Regions from separate parts of the Homo sapiens genome. Here all the other regions are linked to region 3. The links are contacts of gene promoters, found by promoter capture Hi-C in blood cells and fetal thymus (Javierre and others, 2016). All regions are on one chromosome and are shown on one strand. Each heading gives the region's core, a stretch centred on a gene start or on the middle of the fragment in contact. The rest is flanking DNA. Distances are from core to core; before and after follow the strand shown. Region 1 overlaps RALY (RALY heterogeneous nuclear ribonucleoprotein). Region 2 overlaps CDK5RAP1 (CDK5RAP1 mitochondrial tRNA methylthiotransferase). Region 3 holds the start of ACTL10 (actin like 10).

Region 1 (5,094 bases), core at 1,656-4,155, 410 kb before region 3:
AATGCAAATTACTTAGGAATATGATACAGTCACTCACACTTGATCTTGGCTGAGCTGGTGGTGACAGCTGTGGAGCGGGCAAAGAGCTTGACAGGTACGTTAGTTTTGACACGCCGGACCAAAGGGACTGTGACCCGGGGTCGCTTCACAGGGACCGCCCTGGGCACTGGCACGGGCGACAGACGGCCCCGGTAGTCGAAGAGCCTGTGAGGGCAGATGGGCCAGAGGCTGCAGCATGGCTTGTGGCCACCAGGGCGGTATTGCAGCTCCGGCTACAAACGTGTGTGGCTGGTGAGGGGCTGGGAGGCCTGCACTACACACCTCTGCTGGCTCCTAGCAAGCCCTGGAGTGAAGAGGAAGGGCTTGCCGGACCCTGATGGCTGTTGGGATCCTCACTACCTCACTACAACCTCTCCAACCATCCAGGCCCAGTAAGGGCAGGCAAGGCATCAGGTGGTAGCAGTTATACCCCATTCAAAAGAGGAGACATCCCTAGGTCCCCTGGCACCCAGGCCTGCTCTATTACATGACCTGGCTTCTGCTTGGTCAACTGCCACCCCAACCTCTGCTCAGAGTTTGCAAATCTCAAAGCAGCACAAATCCCCAGCTAGGAATAGAGAGGTATGGGAGTGGGGGTCAACTGAGCCTACCTGAGCCTCAGTTTCCCCATATGCCAAATGAGGATGGCTATCCACATTCAGTGTCCACCCAAGGGCACAGCATGAAAGAATTCGGTTAAAAACACACTTTAGAACGTGTAATAGATGAAAGGTCAGGGTACTGAGACCCTCAATTCACGAACCCATGACCTCAGAGGCATAAGACTGAACTCTAAGCCCTTTCCTTACTTGACCTCCTTAATCACCACATCCTTCGTGCTCCATTCCAGAGACAAAGGCCAGGGGCTTGGTAGAGTATCAAGGTTGGGCAGCTCAATCAGACCCCCCCAGGGCTCCCAGGCTGTGCACTGCCCCCAACCAAAGTCATCTCCAAGCCCTCTCTAGGAGGGCTTCCTTTCCAGCTGACCAGGCAGAAACTCAGTAGGCTGAGAAGTGGTCTCTCTGACATCTGTTGCTGCCACCTTTTTCAGGGAATCGCAGCCCAGGGGGTAAACTTTGGGTCAATTTTCCTGACAACGGCCAGGAAACCTGCCATCACTGGGCAAAAGCCCCATTCCTTGGGGCTCCTTTGTTCAGGGAGCCCCTTCCTGGAGGTGGTGATGGCTGCAGATGGAGAGTCTCTGGGAATGGATCCGATCCCAGACCCTGCATTTCTGCCCCCAAGGGGAGGGAACGGCTCTGGCCTTGGTCAGAATCACTGAACCACAGAATCCCAGAGCTGGAGGAGCCTGGAGAGATCACTTGGTGCAAGCCCATTTCACAAACTGGGAAGGGAATTTGCCCAAGATCACATAATCCATTCAGTGGCAGAGCTGAGATTAGCATCTAAATCTTCTGACCCCCAGGCTAAGACACTTTCCACTACACCACACTGTCTCCTGAAACGACTCACAGGGGCGGGGTGGGGATGGGGGCGGACGACTCATGCTCAGAGAGGCACTGTTCTTCTTGGGCTGCCTGGGGTGGGCTAAGCTGGACAGAGGGAGAGAAGCAGGGAGGAGGAGAGATTTGAGTTAGTATCTACCATGATTTCTACTCAAGAATGTGGCTAGTGCTGTTGTAGTGGGAGCCCACAGCCTCTGGGCTGGAGTCTGGGTAGGGCTTGGGAGTGCAGGGTAGACCACAGCCCGCCAGGGACTAATTAGACTTCCAAATGGCTGCTGGCCTCTTGTCTCTAAATATAAACCCAAGAAGCTTAGACTGAGCTCTGGGGCTCCTACCAGCTGCTTGGGCACCTCACAGAGGGAAGGGCTCAAACTCCCTGCAACCAGCGCTGTACCCTGTTGTGTATTCCAACTAGCCACACTTACATAGCTCTTGGCTGTACGGTCTCCTTGAGCCTCACCCAAGGACAAGAAGGAAAAAGGGCAGTTAGCATGGCAGACAGTGTTGTATGGTGGTAGGAGCTCTGGCCTGAGCACCTGCAGCACAGGACCCCAGTCTCAGCTCTGCTACCGACTGGTGGAGCAACCCCAGGCAAACCTCTGGGTTTTGGTTCTCATTTGGAGAACTCAGTGGGCTGCACCAACAATCTCTCAAGACCCTTCCAGCTTGGCTGTTTCATGCCTGGGCACGCCCCTCCCCTGCTCACCTGTCGTAGAAGTCGTCCCGGTAGTAATCATAGTCAAAGATGTAGCCACTGGGGAAACAAAGGGGAGAGGGCTGGAGCTTAGGGACGGCCACTCAGCCCACTTTCCACAGGCCCTCATCTCCAGACACCTCCCCAAGTTCTAGATTCAGCACACTGTCACACCAGCATTTACTCCCTCTGTGGAAAGAGAGAGTCATCCCACCAGACAGACAGACAGTCAGACAGCCCCACCTGTATATGGCAGATGCTGCTCTCTTTAGCCCCTTGGGTCTGTCAGGCTTAGGCTCTCCAGCCATGTTGATGTCTGTGTGGAGGGAGAAGGCAGAGTTGGAATGCTAACATGACAGTGTGCCCACACACATCAACCTCATGCACACGCACAGCAATTCATGTGCTTACACGGTATACACATGGATTCTGCTCACTGATGGTGCCAACAAAGGTCTTCATACATCTAATCTTCAAACATTAGATTCATATCCAGGTATCACATGGATATGCCTGTTTATATGTCCATACACTTTCAGATCCATCCAGGCATGCTCATAAACATGTCCTCCCCCCCGCCCCACCACACACACACGTCGAATATTCCTATATGCATTCTCAAATACACTCATGTAAATGCGTAACACATCAGGTACATGGGAACGCATACACAGAGCCACACTCACACATACATTCACATATCCAGGTAAGAAACTCACACACAGGTAACGTGTATTCTCAAGTACACTCAGTATAGACAACTACCCACATGCAAATGAGCCAATGCACATTCACATGGATGTTCTACCAAACACCTTCATGCCTAGAATAGTCCTTACTACATGAAAAGGTCTCAATAAATACCTGGTAAATGAATATATGTATATCTGCTGACACATTCAAATATGTTCTCTCTCTCACACACACACACACACACACACACACACACTACATCTATACATACAAGGGTTGTGTCCACATATCTCCACATGTTCAGTCAATCCATATACTTCTTGTTCAGGAAAAAACACATACAGATACCCCTTTTCAAACATACACATATACACAGGAGTAAATGCACATGCATGAACACTGTACATACTTCAAGAGAGACCACTAGCATAGTCATATCACATGGACATGACACCAAAACCAAGCGTATTCACACTGTCCTTGTGCTCTCAGGCCCTCCTGCTCGCTCTCAGAAAGGGTTCTAACCTAAGTCATCTGTACCCGGTGTAACAGGCTGTTCTAGGCCACTCTGTTCTCTTTCTCTGGAGAATCTGCATTTTAACTGGAACTGTAAAGCCTGTCACTAAGAAGCTCTGAGAAAGCAGAGACAGGTCAGAAGTGTTTTCCAGAGGCTTCTAAAATTCTTCCCTATAGGGATTAATTTTATAACTATTTAAAACTTAAACATAGCTTATAAATTTATAAAATCTCAGAGCAGTGGTAGCGGTGAGAGAAAGAGAGAAGGGGGTTGAGAACTGGATAGTGATAGCAGCTATTCTAGAGAATACTAGGAGAATATAGTGAAGAGAGGCTTACCCAGGGTCTGCCCGGCCAGCACCCGCCCATTCTCTCCCAGCACAGCTGCCCGGGCATGGCGCTCATTGGAGTACTGAACAAAGGCATAGCCCTTGTGCACAGAACAGCCGGCCACACGGCCATACTTAGAGAAGATGGTCTCCACATCTGATTTCTTCACCAGAGCTGTGTTGAGGTTTCCAATGAAGACTCGAGAGTTGATGGACTTGGGGTCATTCTTGTTGGTTACATTGCTTGCCTGAAGCTTCAAGGACATGGTGCCCACCTGAAGAAAAAGAGCCTCGGTGAAGCTGGGTCCCTGGGCTGGGCTCAAGGACTGCCCACGGCCCATATCCTGGATAAATGAATTGCCTCTTACCTTCCTTAACCCTTATAGCATCCAGCCTACCTGTTCCTGCATCTTGTTTTCTTGTCATATTACCAAGAGTTGCCACATATTGGCTGCTGACCTCATGCCAGGTGCTTTACATACATTCCCTCATTTGTTACTCACATGATATGCAGAACCACAACATTTTACAAGGGAGAAATCTCACATTCAGAGAGACCACAATGTTAGTGAATGGCAGGGCTGGGATCTGACCCCCTGATCTGCTTGACTCTAATTCTTTTGAGTCTACTCCTTTAATGCTCATCTCAAATGTTATCCCATTCAGGATCTAAATTTGAAGATCTTCAATGTAGAACCATGGTCACATGGTATTTGCAAGTGATGTTTACTCTAGACCACCACCATATGATGAAAATTGCAGGGGCCGGGCATGGTGGCTCACAACTGTAATCCCAGCACTTTGGAGGCCGAGACGGGTGCATCACCTAAGGTCAGGAGTTCGAAACCAGCCTGGCCAACATGGCGAAACCCCGTCTCTACTAAAAATACAAAAAATTAGCCAGGCGTGGTGGCGGGTACCTGTAATCCCAGCTACTCGGGAGGCTGAGGCAGGAAAATTGCTTGAACCCAGGAGGTGGAGGTTGCAGTAAGCCACTGCACTCCAGCCTGGGCGACAGAGCCAGACTCTGTCTAAAAAAAAAAAAGAAAAGAAAAGAAAACTGCTTAGTCTGATCCAGACACAGACCTGTCTGAATTGCTACCAACCATTTTGAAAAGGGTATGCTAGCTAAGCCCGATAATGGTTTGAATTTGTGTCCCCGCCCAAATCTCATGTCTAATTGTAATCCCCAGTGCTGGAGGTGGGGCCTGGTGGGAGGTGACTGGATCATGGTGACTGAAATCATGCATTTCCCCCTTGGTGCTGCTCTCATGATAGTGAGTGACTGCTCGTGAGATCTGGTGTTTAGACGTGTGTAGCACCTCCCACTGTCTCTTTTCCTCCTGCCCTGGCCATA
Region 2 (5,056 bases), core at 2,346-4,845, 290 kb after region 3:
TGTTGTTCAGGCTGGTCTCGATCTCCCGACCTCAGGTGTTCCTCCCACCTCGGCCTCCCAAAGTGTTGGGATTACAGGTAAGAGCCACTGTGCCTGGCTTAATTTTTGTATTTTTAATAGAGACGGGGTTTCACCATGTTAGGCTGGTCTCAAACTCCTGATCTCAAGTGATCCACCCGCCTCGGCCTCCCAAAGTGCTGGGATTACAGGTGTGAGCCCACTACGCCTGGCCTCATTTATTTTTTTCTTATTGAAAACGTATTTCAAAGTAGAGCATGTTGTTTCATCCTTCAGTATGCATCTCTAAAAAATAAGGATATTTTCTTTTTTAAACATTTAAAAATCTTTTTATTATTTATTTATTTATTTATTTTTGAGATGGAGTTTCGCTCTTTTTGCCCAGGCTGGAGTGCAATGGCACAATCTTGGCTCACCGCAACCTCCGCCTCCCAGGTTCAAGTGATTCTCCTGCCTCAGCCTCCCAAGTAGCTGGAATTACAGGTGTGCACCACTACACCCAGCTAATTTTGTATTTTTAGTAGAGATGGGGTTTCACCATGTTGGCCAGGCTTAGTCTCAAACTCCTGACCTCAGGTGATTCACCCGGCTCAGCCTCCCAAAGGGCTAGGATTACAGGTGTGAGCCACTGTGCCTGGCCTATTTATTTATTTACTTATTTATTTATTTATTTTGAGACAGAGTCTTGTTCTGTTGCCCAGGCTGGAGTGCAGTGTTATGATCTTGGCTCACTGCAACCTCTGCCCCCGGGACTCAAGTGATCCTCCTGCCTCAGCCTCCTGAGTAGCTGGGATTATAGGCACGTACCACCATGTGCTGCTAAAGAATATTTTTATTTTATTTTATTTATTTATTTAGAGACGGAATTTTGCTCTTTTTGCCCATGCTGGAGTGCAATGGCACGATCTCAGCTCACTGCAACCTCCACCTCCTGGGTTCATGTGATTCTCCTGCTTCAGCCTCCTGAGTAAATGGGACTACAGGCATGCGCCACCATACTTAGCTCATTTTTGTATTTTTAGTAGAGACGGGGTTTCACCATGTTGGGCAGGCTGGTCTCGAACTCCTGACCTCAGGTGATCTACCCGCCTTGGCCTCCTAAAGTGCTAGGATTACAGGCATGAGCCACCGTGTCTGGCCAAGAATATTTTTAATACCATTAGTTCTTCCAGTAAGATTAACAAAAATTGCTAAATACTGTCTCATTCCAGTTCATCCTTATTCGGAGTTCCCCAATTGTTCCTTAAGTCATTCTGCATTTGGTTTGTATGTCTTTTTATATATGTGTGTGTATTTTACTTAGTTTTATATCCTACTTTTTAATAAACTTTTTGTTTTGGAATGACTTTACATTTACAGGAAAGTTGCAAAGAGAGTTTCCTCGAGCATTGCCATCTTTCTTTGGTACATTTTTTGGTGCTGTAATCCCAGCACTTTGGGAGGCCAAGGCAGGAGGGTGCCTTGAGCGTAGGAGTTCAAGACCAGCCTGGGCAACACTGGGAGCTGCTGTCTCTATTACAAAACAAACAAAGCAAAAACTAAGAGATTAATATTGGTATGTTACTATTAACTCTCTTCAGACTTTATTTGGATTTTGCCAGTTTCTCCACTAATGTCTTACTTCGTTTCCAGGATCCAATCTAGGATCCACATTGCATTTAGTATATCCTGCTTTTTAGATTAACAGTATGTCACAACTTACACAAATAAATAGCCTTTATGGAGACTGGAGTTATGACAACTAAATGCATCGCACGGTCCTCGATTGGGATTCTGATCAGGGAAAAAAATGTTATAAAGAACATTATTTGGGCTGGGCGTGGTGGCTCACACCTGTAATCCTAGCATTTTGGGAGACCATGGTGTGCAGATTGTCTGAGCTCCGGAGTTTGAGACTAGCCTGGGCAACTTGGCAAAACCCGTCTCTACTAAAAAATACAAAAAGTTAGCCTGGCGTGGTGACACACGCCTGTAGTCCCAGCTACTCAGGAGGCTGAGGCAGGAGAATCGCTTGAACCTGGGAGGCGGAGATTGCAGTGAGCCAAGATCACGCTAGTGCACTCCAGCCTGGGCAACAGAGTGAGACTCTGTCTCAAAAAACAACAATAACAACAACAACAACAACAAAACATTATTTGGACTATTGGTAACATTTGATTTATGGAAAGTAGATAATAGTGTTGTATCAATATTTCTGATTTTGATAATTGTCCTGAAATTATATAGGAGAATGCCCTTGTTTTTAAGAAATATATACTAAAATATTTGGAAGTAAAAGAGTATGATATCTGTGACTTTTTCTCAGAAGGCTTAAAAAAAATGTAGTCATATGTGTGTTGAGAGAGAGTGTATATGAGTGTCTGAATGTGAATGATAAACAAATGGGGTGCAGTGTTAACATTTGATGAATTTGGGCAAAGAGTATATGGGAATTCTTTTAATATTGCAGTTTGTCTGTAAATTATGTCAAAGTTACAAAACAAGTCTTTTTTAGCAACCATTATTTGTGAAACTTTATAATATAACATTTCTATTTTTTGAGATGGAGTCTCGCTCTGTTGCCCAGGCTGGAGTGCAGTGGCATGGTCTCGGCTCACTGCAGCCTCTGCCTCCTGGGTTCAAGCGATTCTCCTGCCTCACCCTCCTTAGTAGCTGGGATTAGGTGCCTGCCACCACGCCCAGCTAATTTTTTGTATTTTTAGTAGAGAAGGGATTTCACCATGTTAGCCAGGCTGGTCTGAACTCCTGACCGTGTGATCCGCCCACCTTGGCCTCCCAAAGTACTGGGATTTCAGGAGGGAGCCACTGCACCTGGCCTATAATATAAATTTTCAAACAGACAAATAGAAAGACTAGTATAATAGAAAAACGTGATTGTTAACATTTTGTCATACACCTATCTCCATGCACCCATAAATGTATTTTTTCTGAACCATTTGAAGTAATTTGTAGACCTCAGGACACTTGCCCCTAGATACTTCAGTATGTATCTTCTATGAGTAACAATTTTTCTCTTCATAACCATGATATCATTATCATATGTATGAAAATCAATAGTTATTTAAGCCAGACACTTTGGGAGGCTGAGGTGGGAGGATTGCTTGAGTTTAGGAGTTTAAAACCAGTCTGTGCAACATGGTGAAATCCCATCTCTACAAAAGTAAAAAAAGGTAGTCCCAGCTACTTGGGAGGCTGAGGCAGGAGGACTGCTTAAGCCTGGGAGGTTGAGGCTACAGTGAGCTATGATCGTGCTGCTGCACTCCAGCCTGGGCAACAGAGGGAGACCCTGTCTCAAGAAGAAGAAGAAAAAAATCTAAAACAGCTCTTTTATTTTTTGTTGTTGTTGTTTTCTTTAAATGATGCATTAACTTTTTGAAGAGATCAGACATGAGTCTCCTTTGTCTGATTTTTTCCTCATGTTGTCATTTAATATATCTCTGTGAATTCTAGTAACTGGAAGTTAGGTGTAAAAGCTTGATTAGTTCAGGTTAAATATTTCTGGTGAGAATACTTTATATAGTCATGGTGTATAACATTCAAATGACAGATCTATCATAAATTAACCATTATTGTGGATTATTGAGTTTGTTTCCAGTTTTGATTCTAAATAATGTTTTGAAGATTAATTTTTATATAAGGCTTTATTAGGTTTAGCTCTTTAGGTAAGATGTCTAAGCTTGAAATTATTCGGTTATAGACACAACACACTTATAGGTGACTCTTGGTAGGTTCGATTTTTCTTTTGTTTAAAACAAAAGATATGTTAATTTCAGCTAATTTTTAATTAGTGTTTTTTTATGAAGCTACCCAAAAGTTTTAAAATTCCAATATATTTTCCCATGTTTAGGGGCTGAAAGAAGTGACACTTCTTGGTCAGAATGTTAATAGTTTTCGGGACAATTCGGAGGTCCAGTTCAACAGTGCAGTGCCTACCAATCTCAGTCGTGGCTTTACCACCAACTATAAAACCAAGCAAGGAGGACTTCGTTTTGCTCATCTTCTGGATCAGGTCTCCAGAGTAGATCCTGAAATGAGGATCCGTTTTACCTCTCCCCACCCCAAGGATTTTCCTGATGAGGTGAGCGTCAGGTTAGCTGTGACAAACTGATATTAGTATTCTTGAGCATGCCAAAGGCTGGACCCAGTAGGGATGCAGCAGAGACCTGGAGTCCTGCTTAGGGATCCTGTGGGGTATTGCTGCATCACCCTCCAGATCTGCTGGTCCTTTGAAGATTTGAAGTCCACCAGTGGCTGGGCACGGGGCTTACACCAATAATCTCAACACTTGGAGACGCTGAGGCAGGTGGATTACTTGAGCTCAGGAGTTGGAAACCAGCCTGGGCAACATGGCGAAACCCCGTCTCTACTGCAAATACAAAAAATTAGCTGGGTGGGGTGGGATACGACTGTAGTTCTGGCTACTTGGGAGACTGAGGTGGCATACGACTGTAGTTCCAGCTACTTGGGAGACTGAGGTGGGAGAATCACATGAGCCCAGGAAGTCGAGGCTGCAGTGAGCCGAGATCGCACCACTGCACTCCATCCTGGGTGAGATAGCGAGACCCTGTCTCGAAAAAAAAGTCTGCCAAGGTGGGAGTGGAGGTAGGACTGATATTCAGCGGGAGGTTAAGACCACCTGCGGGACCGTGAGGGCTGTACAGAGAGGATTTGTTACAAAGTGGGCAGCTGAGTGGTAATAATGGTGGTGGGGCGGTAATGGTGGTGTGGGGTGGACAGGAAGGAGGTGATGTGGTGCTCTGGGAAACAGCCCAGACTTTCGCCTCAGACCCGGGTTCAAATCTCAGCTTTTCCACTGTTTTACCAGCGAGCATGTGATGTTTTCAACTTTTCATCTTTATCTGTAAAATGGGGTTAATAAGGGGTTAACAATTACCTCCTGCTTTGGGTTGTTGTGAAATAGATACAAAGGCATACCTTGTTTTATTGCACTCTGCAGATATTATGGAGTTATTTTTAACAAATGGAAGGTTTGTGGCAACTCTGAATAAGTCTGTCAGCACCATTTTTCCAACAGCAT
Region 3 (4,842 bases), core at 1,327-3,826:
GATGGGTGGGGGTCCAGGAACCCTTGAGCACCTCTTCTGCCTGCAGACTACTTCTCAGAGCACCTGGGTGTCTACCGGCCGGTGCTGGCTGCATTGGAATCGCTGAACCGTGCAGTGCTCGCTGCCATGGATGCCACCAAGCTGGTGAGTGGAGTGGCTGATGGTGGGGGATCCACTGTGAGGCAGTGGGCATCTGCTGTGCTGTGGGATCCTCCACAGTCTTGACTCAGGGTTATAGAGCTAGGGGCTTGGGTTCAAATCCTGGCTCCCACTTTGTAGCTGTGCCCCTTGACCTCTCTGGGCCTGTTTCCTCATCTGTAAACCATCATAACAATAGAGCTGCCCTTCATACATCACTGTGACCAGTGAGAACGAAGGCAGGGATTTTTGTCTGTTTTATTCTGTTTCCAGCACCCAGAATAATGTCTGGCATACACTGGGTGCTTCATACTAGGGGCTGCTGTTGCTTTAGTTGCTGGCCCATCACAACTGTGGTGGGATATCATTCAGGGCTGGGCTAGGCGTGGAAGGCTGTGCTCACAGGTTCACAGGGCAGGGCCTGGCCCGAGGACATACGTGAGTAGGCAGGTACGTGAACACCCACGCGTTTGTGTGGACACGTGTATACACAAGCTCGAACAGTGCTGATAGCCAGGGCTTGAGGCCCTTGAGTGGTGACTTCCAAAAAATAAGCTGCCCTTCCCTTTGTGTGTTCAAGAAATATCTCCACCTCCCTTTGCTCCATAGCTCTTGTAAGGGGGAGGGAGCAGTGAGCAGGCCCGGGATTGTGCCTGACCCCACTTTTTACAGAAGGGGAAACTGAGGCACTCATAGTCAACAATGACCTGAGCACATGGCTAGGCACAGGGCTCCTCCTCCTGGTGACTTTCACATGAGATTTAGTAGCTTTTCAAGGGATCGCCCCTTGGGGCCTGGCATCGGATGTATGTCCAAATGGTACATGACGAGGGTTTGGAGGAACTCCCATATCTGTGGCATGGACACAAGTGGGGCATCACCTTTATTGCCATAAAGTAGGGCCCTGTGGGTAGGCAGCTGGACTGGCATTCTCTGAACTGGCAGTGGTTGGGGAGATTCAAACTGCAGTTCAAAATGAGGGTCCCATGGGTCCCAAATACCTTCTCCTGGCCCAGAAAGGGTATGGGGGTGACCCATCCAGTCAGCTCCAACCTCCAGGAGGACCCTGCCAGCTCCAAACACTTGACTCTTTAGATAGAGAGCTGTCCCCCAACGCAGTGCCACCCCCCCCAGTCCAGCCTGACTCAGTTGAACACATCGTACAGCAGCCTGGAGCCACACTCCTGGTACATGGCCCGAGTTATCCAGCGGCGCTGGAAGGAGTGCAGGGAGGCCACCATGGAGCCGCCGGTCCACACAGCCATGCCACGCCCATGCTTGGCCACCAGGTGGGGCCGCAGGGCCGCGTAGCCGTGCCGCCGGCACTGCGCCTCCAGCTCCTTGTCCAGGCGCTCGGCGAAGCCAGGAAACAGTGTGGAGCCGCCGGCTAGCACCACGGTGTCTGCCAGGCGTGTCCGCAGCGTTTTGGGCATCTTCTGCAGCGCCCGGAAGGCCAGCGCGGGCAGCCCCTGCTCAGCCTGGCCCAGCAGGCCCGGCTGGAAGATGGGTTCGGGGCAGCGGAAGCGCTCACTGCTGAGGCAGACGCAGCACCCGTTACCCACGCTGAAACTGGCCGGATGGTGGCGGGCGGGGTCGCGGAGGTCGCCCTCGAAGTCCAGGGACACGTAGCAGCTGCGCTTCTTGAGATGTGTGATGGCCTTGCGGGGCAGGGCCTGCTGCAAGAGGTCAGGGTTCGCCGCCACCAGCAGATCCCGCAGGTAGCGCGACAGGGTGCTGCCTGCCACGTTCAGTCGGAAGGTGGCCTGGTGCCACGAGTGACCCGCGTAGATGGGCGTGGCGTGGCACACGCCCGCGCCCGCCTCCACGGCCAGCCCGCTGAACGCGCCGGTGGAGCAGAGCGCCAGCAACGCGGTGCTAGCCATGTGGCACGCGGGCACTGCCAGGGTCTCGAACAGCAGCTCCGCCACCCTTTCGCGGCCCGCGGGCGGCGCCAACGGCGAGTCGCTCACCAGCACGGGCCACTGCTCTGGGCACACCCGCAGGCCGCCCACCAGCAGGCGCTCCCACAGCCCTTCCAGCGCCTCCCAGTCCGCCACCACGCCGTGCTTGATGGGGTGCGCCCGCGCCACGCCGCCCGCCAGCTCGCAGCCCGGCGCTCCGGGCAGCACCGGCCGGTCCCAGCTGGGCACCAAGCTAGAGCTCTTCAGCACTATGCGCGGCTGGTTCTCGCCCGCGAAGCCCGCCTTGGTGAAGCCCGAGCCCTGGTCCACCACCACCGCGATGCGGCCCAGGGAGGACGGCCGGTGCACGCGGCGGCTCCCCGACACCGACGCCACCTTCGGGCTCGGCCCAGCCGCGGGGCTGAAGGCTCCGCTCCTCCGCGCCACTCGGCTTCGTCGGCCCGATACCTCCCGGCCTCTGTCCTAGGGAGTAGTCCCCTTCAGCCTTTGGCTCTGCCTCCGGAGCCTAAGTTCTTCCTCTTCTGGACCAAATCACCACCCTTTTCAGCTCTTGGCTCCGCCCTCTGGTCTGAAAGCCCCGCCTCTTCTGTCCGGGCCATCCGCCTCCTTTTCAGCTCGTGGCTAGTTCCTAGGCCTGAGGCCCGGCCCCTAGTTCAGGCTTCAGTCTCCGCTCTGGCTGGGTTCCAGCCGCATCTCACCCTCTTGGTCTCCCTCTGGCGCCGGGCTTCAGGCTCCACGCTCTCAGGACCCGCCTCTGCTTTGCTGTTCCGCCCCGTCAGCCCTTGCTGAGATGGCTGACGAGATGGCTAGGACTGATCCTTTTAGATCCTAAGAAGCCCCCGGGAGGAGCAGAACTTTGAGGGCGAAGGGGCCTTGTGGTAAGGCCATTTGGACATATATCCCCCTTGAGGACCCAGGCAGCCTCCTGGCACCTCTCACCTGGGCTTGACGGAAGTTCCTGGTTGTGGAGAGGGGAGGGGCTGGTCAGAAGGCAGAAAAGAACTTGGATTGGGCTCATTGTGACCTCACTCCCCAGCAGCTGCACTTCGCAGCTCCCTACCTTATGACAACTCCCTGGACCCATCCTCTCTTCTGGACAGAGCCAAGGGCAGTGATTTTGGCATCCAGGGGTCTGGCTTCAGCAGCCCAGCACAGTCTGATTCCTTTCCCAAACCACTTAGAATTATCTGATGTACTCTGTCCAGATGTGTGGCCCCCTACCCCTCCCAGTGCTGAAGAAAAAGCTTTTTCATCACAGATCTGCAGCTTCCCTGAAGAGCCCCCGAGAGGCTCTGGCCCTACCTTTATGGGCTTCCACGGATGGATTCACGTGGGCCTCAGTTTGAGACTCAGTTCTTTTTTTTATTATTATTATTTTTGAGACGGAGTCTCGGTCACCCAGGCTGGGCGTGCAGCGTTGCAATCTCAGCTCAGTGCAACCTCTGCCTTCCGAGTTCAAGTGATTCTCCTGCCTCAGCCTCCTGAGTAGCTGGGACTACAGGCATGCACCACCATACGCGGCTAATTTTTGTATTTTTAGTGGAGACAGGGTTTCGCCACGTTGGCCAGGCTGGTCTCGAACTCCTGACCTCAGGTGATCCACCTGCCTTGGACTCCCAAAGTGCTAGGATTACAGGTGTGAGCCACCGCACCCAGCAAGACTCAGTTCTGAAGCTGACTCACTGTGCAGTCCTAAGCAAGTCTTGATCTTTCTCTGGGTTCGGTTTTCTCCTCCAAAAGGTAGTAATAATCCCCCCACACAGGAAAGAGGTCACTTCTTGTCTCTGCAAAGCCTCATCCTCCTGAGGACCAGTTTGGTTGCAGGTAGAAGACTCAGGTGAATGTAACCCAAAATAAGGACTTTATTGAAAGGATCTTACATGTTATGGATATCAAGAGCAAGGGTGAAATCAGGTTTCAGGAACAGAATCTGACTGCGGGGCTGTGGGGAACCCAGGATGTGCACTGCATTGTGTTGTTTGTTTTTTGAGATGGAGTCTCGCTCTCTTGCCCAGGCTGGAGTGCAGTGGTGTGATCTCAGCTCACTGCAACCTCTGCCTCCTGGGTTCAATTCCCCTGCCTTAGTCTCCCGAGTAGCTGGGACTACAGGCGCCCGCCATGATGCCTGGCTAGTTTTTTGTATTTTTAGTAGAGACGGGGTTTCACCGTGTTAGCCAGGATGGTCTCGATCTCCTGACCTCGTGATCTGCCTGCCTCAGCCTCCCAAAGTGCTGGGTTTACAGGCGTGATCCACTGCGCTTGGCCTGCATTGTGTTTTTATTCTGAAGGCTGGCTTAGCCTGTGCATGTTCAAGTAGAGAACATGGTCTCTTACAGCTCCTGAATCACAGTCCTAGGGGGAGGGGCTGACAGGACCAGCTTGGGCCAATCACTGTATGGGCAGGAGGTGCAGCCCCATGGAAGAACATGGTTACCCTGATTGTAACCATGTGGATGGTAGGGAAGAGTCAGTTCTCACAATTAGCAGGAGTGATGTTATAGCTCTTGCAGCCTCCAGCCTGGTGCAGGCAAGGTGGAGGAGATGTTCATCCTGGTGGCGGTGACAAAAGTGCATCTTCAGCAGAAGCTGGGCTGATGGCTGTAGTGAGCTGGGACTTCAGTCCTGCTGCATCTGCCCCCAAAAGAGGGCATCCTGAGGTTGGTCACCAGAGTGTGGCAGGAAGGCGGGCTGCAGGTTTGGCAGGCCAGGGGTGGCATTGGGTGTGGAGCTGGATTTGGGACCCGGGAGAGTGAGGAGAAGCAGCAGCAGGATCCCGCCCACA

Evidence for each region. Contacts are between HindIII fragments. The CHiCAGO score rates a contact against its expected background, and 5 or more counts as called.
Region 1: a fragment that was not itself captured here is called in contact with the fragment with the promoter of ACTL10 in region 3 in 1 of 17 cell types (endothelial precursors); the score reaches 7.2 in endothelial precursors.
Region 2: a fragment that was not itself captured here is called in contact with the fragment with the promoter of ACTL10 in region 3 in 3 of 17 cell types (megakaryocytes, endothelial precursors and naive B cells); the score reaches 5.6 in megakaryocytes.

The regions. Positions count from the first base shown.
Region 1 is chr20:34,070,984-34,076,077 of GRCh38, reverse strand. It overlaps RALY (RALY heterogeneous nuclear ribonucleoprotein), which reads right to left. Exons shown (of 10, transcript NM_016732.3): 3 at 3,748-4,012; 4 at 2,443-2,515; 5 at 2,212-2,259; 6 at 38-204. The coding sequence starts at 4,003. Among named protein-coding and RNA genes, the nearest start is that of MIR4755, 24 kb to the right of the region's middle. The HindIII fragment of the contact is 2,177 bases long and covers 1,817-3,993 here.
Region 2 is chr20:33,378,501-33,383,556 of GRCh38, reverse strand. It overlaps CDK5RAP1 (CDK5RAP1 mitochondrial tRNA methylthiotransferase), which reads left to right. Exons shown (of 14, transcript NM_016408.4): 8 at 3,866-4,096. Among named protein-coding and RNA genes, the nearest start is that of CDK5RAP1, 20 kb to the left of the region's middle. The HindIII fragment of the contact is 203 bases long and covers 3,494-3,696 here.
Region 3 is chr20:33,664,677-33,669,518 of GRCh38, reverse strand. ACTL10 (actin like 10) reads right to left here and starts at 2,576. Exons shown (of 1, transcript NM_001024675.2): 1 at 994-2,576. The coding sequence starts at 2,021. The coding sequence ends at 1,284. NECAB3 (N-terminal EF-hand calcium binding protein 3) reads left to right here. Exons shown (of 12, transcript NM_031232.4): 5 at 47-144. RefSeq lists enhancers at 1,774-1,853, 2,664-2,883, 4,734-4,842 and a silencer at 2,204-2,533. The HindIII fragment of the contact is 8,805 bases long and covers 1-3,306 here.